Linked DNA regions of Homo sapiens: region 2 is linked to region 1. Evidence: promoter capture Hi-C in 16 types of primary human blood cells and fetal thymus (Javierre and others, 2016). All regions are on one chromosome and are shown on one strand. The core of a region is centred on a gene start or on the middle of the fragment in contact, and the rest is flanking DNA. Distances in the headings are between cores, read along the strand shown. Region 1 holds the start of ZNF613 (zinc finger protein 613). Region 2 holds the start of ZNF347 (zinc finger protein 347).

Evidence for each region. Contacts are between HindIII fragments. The CHiCAGO score rates a contact against its expected background, and 5 or more counts as called.
Region 2: a contact is called between the fragment with the promoter of ZNF347 here and the fragment with the promoter of ZNF613 in region 1, in 4 of 17 cell types (non-activated CD4 T cells, naive CD8 T cells, naive CD4 T cells and 1 more). The highest score is 8.7, in non-activated CD4 T cells.

What each region holds. Positions count from the first base shown.
Region 1 is chr19:51,926,192-51,928,735 of GRCh38, reverse strand. ZNF613 (zinc finger protein 613) reads right to left here and starts at 1,264. Exons shown (of 6, transcript NM_001031721.4): 1 at 1,196-1,264. RefSeq lists enhancers at 1,326-1,625, 1,481-2,244. The HindIII fragment of the contact is 2,177 bases long and covers 373-2,544 here.
Region 2 is chr19:53,157,773-53,160,316 of GRCh38, reverse strand. It overlaps ZNF347 (zinc finger protein 347), which reads left to right and starts at 1,264. Exons shown (of 5, transcript NM_032584.3): 1 at 1,264-1,308. RefSeq lists a silencer at 1,082-1,331 and an enhancer at 1,067-1,361. The HindIII fragment of the contact is 5,586 bases long and covers 1-2,544 here.

The DNA.
Region 1 (2,544 bases), core at 15-2,514:
CTACAGGCGTGTGTTACCACACCCAGTTAATATTTGTATTTTTTGGAGAGACAGGCTATGTTGTTCAGGCTGATCTCCAACTTCTAGGCTCGAGCAATTCGCCCACTTTGGCCTCCCAAATGCTGGGAATATAGGCGTGAGCCACCGCGCCAGGCCACCTTACCATTTTAGATTTGATTAATCTTTGATCTTCCCCAAAGCTTTCCTATTTACCAGGATGAGAGAAAGGAGAGATGTGAGAAGTCAAATGAGATTTGTAAACCAGTCCTTGCAGAGAAACTTAAAAGGGACTGAGAGGGAATGTACCGTTGGACCTGAACACACACACCAATCAGGATGCCCTGGCTGCCAAGGCTTCAGCCTTCACAAGCTTCTCCACGACTGTCACATCTAGACCTCCCTAACATGGTCACACCCCCTTAGATTAATCCAAAAACCTGGACCACACACCTAGGTTCACATGAACCCGGGCTCCTCCTCACTGAGTCGCATATTAAATCCTGATTACAGCCTGGAGCGAAGGCTCACGCCCGTAATCCCAGCACTTTGGGAGGCCAAGGTGAGAGGATCGTTTGAGGCCAGGAGTTGGAGACCAGCCTGGGCAACATAGTGAGACCCCCGTCTCTGCAATAAACAGATAGATTAGATAGATAAATTAGATAGATAGATAGATAGATAGATAGATTAGATTAGACAGATTAGATAGATAGATAGATAGATAGATAGCGTGGTGGCGCTCACCTGTAGTCCCAGCTACTCGGGAAAGCTGAGGTGGGAAAATCACCTGAGCCCCGGGAGATGGAGGCTGCAGTGAGCCACGATTGCGCCACTGCACTCAAGCCTGTGTGACAGAGCGAGACCCTGTCTCAAAAATAAAAAATAAAACCCCGAATCCGAAGCAGACACAGTTTTCCTTGACAAAAACCACTCCTCACTCCAGTCCTCAATCACCGAGCCCTACAGAGTGACCCGCAAAGGCACCAAACCCTGATCACGGACTTCCAAGTGTTGCTCTGGACAGACTCTGACCACCGACCACTGGGATCCCTCAGGGCTGACTCCGGAGACGCCCCAACCCCAATACCCCGACTCCCACTTGCTCCCGCTTCCCCCACAAACTCCACGGCTCCGCACTAAACGGACGCCCACAGACACCCTCCTCCCCTCATCCTGACAGACAGACCCACACACAGACCTGATTTTGCGGGGAACCCACCGAGACTTCCCAGAACCTGCACTTTCCTGAATTATTCCACTTCTGGGCCCTCCCCCAGCCTCCAAGCCGGCCTACGGCGGCCGAGGAAGGTCTGAAGTTGCAGGTGTACGGAGCACGGACGACTGGGAGGTAGTAAGTTCGCGTCCTCTCGTCACGGATACTGGAGGCAGCCATCTTTGAATCCTGCACGTACGGAAGGTAAAGTGGACCTTTTCTGCCCAAGTATTCAGGGATAGCGCGGGACGGTGAAGAACTCCATATTTTGGCACCTAAATCCTGCGCCCAAGTTTCATTTATTTTCAGAGGGTCGAGCTTAGCCAAGACAAACATGGTATGGCTACGTGCACCTTAGCGGGCTGGGGAGAAAAGTCATCCGCTTTGCACAAAGAATGACGGGAATGACACAATGGGCGCGGCCATCTTAACACTTAGGTGTCCGTACAAGTGAAAACGCTTTCTCCACAGAGGAAAAAGAGCAATCGCACCCTGAGTCATATACCGCGAAAACGCATCTAGCTACATGTGGAGGACAAGAGGAAGATTTTTGAGGACCAAAAGGGTGTGGAGAGGCAATCGAGGTACGAGGATATTGTTCACCCCGTCAACGGAAAGTGAAAAAACAGCGACCCCTGGAACCTCATTTACATTTGAGGGACACGGTCACCGCCCAGTGCAGGTAAAGAGAGCAGCCACCAGCCAACCGGAAAAGGAATCCAATGCGGGAGGCGGGAATTTTCCTTAAGAGAGAAGAAGGGCCTTCCCTCTGCTGTAGGTGGAGTCAATCTTAACGTCGGGGCTTTCGGAGAACCAAGTGCCTAAAATTCTGGAAGGAATAAATAAGGCGACTCTGGGAGAATGAAAAGTTGTGCAAGCCCGGGCGCGATGGCGCACACGTGTAGTCCCAGCTACTGGGGAGACCAAGGCAGGAAGATCGCTTGAGCCCAGGAGTTCCAGGCTGCAGTGAGCTATGATCGCACCTATCAATAGCCACTGCACTACACAGCCTTGGCAACCCCTTCATGAGGAAAAAAAGAAAAAAGAAAAAAAAAAGTTGTGCAAGAAAAGTAATCATAGGATACTACCTGACTGACCTATAAATATTATTTACATAGTCATCATAACGTAAATTCTAATTCTGATCCAACCTAAATTAAGACAATTCCATTGGAAGAATGAGAAGGAAATTCCTGCATGCAGTGGAGTGTTTATATTTATAACAGAGTTTTCACGTGTCCTTCATGATACATCTATAGAAAATGCCCCAAAATGCAAACTCCATTTCAGAAACATACCGTGTTACTTAAAATATCAAATCTGTGAAGAGTGAA
Region 2 (2,544 bases), core at 15-2,514, 1.2 Mb before region 1:
GGTTCTCTATAAACATGAAAAAAGGGTATCCCTGTGAGTCTTTAGTTCAGTCAATGTACTGGGATGGTACGTTAGAAATACTGGAAAACTATTCTTTAGGCGAAAATAAATCCAATTGTCATGTGGTGACTATTTTCCACACTCTGTTATCCACATCTGATAGAACATTAAGAAACAGAAAACAAAAAAATAGACCCAATATAGATTACAATTTTAAAATAAAAAGTACTGTGTCAAGTTCCCTTCAGAATGCCCATAAAGTGAATTTGAAATTACATGATATTTAGAAATTATTGATTTAAGCATATTTTGATGCAAAGAAAGATTATGTCAAAGTTGTTTGTGGTTAAGTCATTTCAAGTGTGGAACGGAATAACGAATATAAGCAAAAATAATGCAGTTTATCTCTATTTTTTAAAAATTCACATGGTTTAAATCAGTAGTTGACTGGGCACAGTAGTTCACTCCTGTAATCCCAGCAATTTTGGAGGCCCAGGCAGGAGGATTGCTTGAGGTCAAGAGTTGGAGACCAGCCTGGGCCGAGACTCCCATCTTTACAAAAATATATGTTTTAAAGAACAATAAAGCAGCCCTTGGTGATCTAACTTATCGGCCTTAACCTTCCCATGAATTGAGCACAGGCTTGACTCTTCCACTGGGGAGAATGGGGATTTGAAATGTAAAGGAGGTTCTGTTGGGCTACTGCATTAAATTGCATATCCGTCCAGGTAGGATGCTGCATTTCCCATTCTACTTTGAATCATCCTCAGAGATAATTTCCAGACATTTTAGTTAAATTAAATACATTTTAATTGCAGGAATTGCTGGATCCAATCGCCGTGCCTCGTGGATCCTCCACTAAGATCCCAGTTCCCAGACCGAGATCCCCGATTCCCAGATCCCCGTTCCTGAGCTGCAGCAGACTCCCTAGCAGGACTGGGTCCAACCCGCCGGCAAACAATTTTAACATAAACCGTTTTCAACTTGGTAAGAGGAAATCATTTTGGTTTCTATCATAAGTGGTCCACGTAAGTCTATTCTTTCACCTTAAAACTGCTTCAAATTGGAACGGTGCTCCCGGGGACATAGTGAACACTCCAGCGTTTCTAAACCGGGAAAAATGAGACTGCGGGCTAGGCAGGCTGAGGGAAGCGCAGACCCCGCCCCAGCTCCGCCCCAGCGTTTCGTCCGCAGACCCCGCCTCTCCCCAGGCCCCGCCCCCAGAGTGCCCGGGCTCTTTTCCGCGCACGCGCAGTTTTCTGCAGTTCCGGAAGCGGATCGTGTTGGGTGCGGGTGACGCCGCCGAGCGTGAGTGTCCCTCAGTATGGATTAAACTTGCGAACCGCCGTGCCCCGTTTCCGCAGCCAGTTCCCGGGCTCGCTACAGACCTTTTTTTTTTTCTTTTTTTTTTTTTTTGGTGAGACGGAGATTTACTCTTGTTGTCCAGGCTGGAGTGCAATGGCGCGATTTCGGCTCACCGCATCCTCCGCCTCCCAGGTTCAAGCGATTCTCCTGCCTCAGCCTCCCGAGTAGCTGGGATTACAGGCATGTGCCACCACGCCCGGCTAATTTTGTATTTTTAGTAGAGACGGGGTTTCACCGTGTTGCCCAGGCTGATCTCGAACTCCTGACCTCAGGTAATCCGCCCGCCTCGGCCTCCCAAAGTGCTGGGGTTACAAGCGTGAGCCACTGCGCCCGGCAGCTACAGACCTTAAGATCCCCGCACCGCGCCCTCCACCCCAGCTGACTCGCGGTGTGGGTTCGGAGTCGCTTCTCTTTGGGTTGAAGTAGCTCTGAGGCTTCTCCCTGTCCCCGGCCTTTCGCGTCTTCCTCCCGCTTAAAACCCTTTCCTGACCCCTCCTCCCGCCCCGGGCTTTTTAAAGTCCTCGCCCGCGAGGTGGATTCCCGCCCTGGGTGCCTCCCAGCCTCGCCCTCGTCGGCCCCTGGAGCGCAGCTCCTCAGCCCCGGTACCGGCGAGGCCGCGTCCTCTGCCTGGTCCTGGCATCCTGCAGACCCCACCCCTCTTCTAAGGCGCCGTCGCCCCGCCACCTCCCTCCTCCTCGTGCCGGGCCCTGCTGCTCCCCAGGCCTCCCCTTCGCAGTCCCCGCTTCTCCTGAGCCCGCGCTGGGGAGGTGCCCGGGGCCTGTCCTGTGACACCCGGTGTTCTTGCCTGCCCAGCTCCAGCCCCTGGAAAATGCGCTCCTCCAAGATGCAGGCGTCTTAGTCCAAACCTTCCTGTGAATGTGTGGACCAAGGGGATTAGCAGGTAGAGAAAGGGGCAGAGACAGAGAGAGAAGTAGAAAAACTGAGAGGAAAGAGTGAGGGAAACCCGTAACCAGATGGCAAAGTAGAGGATGGGCGAGGGATTTGCAGATGGTAAGAGAAGGAGCTGAGAAGGCAGAAGGAGAAAAGCAACTGGGGAAATGTAGAGAAAAGCTCGATGTCCAGAGACATGAAGGACAGCAAGGTAGGGAGAGGGCCAGAAAGTGGGAGGCTCCTCAGACAGAGTCCGGGAGAGGAGGAGGGATTTGGAGCCAGGGCAGA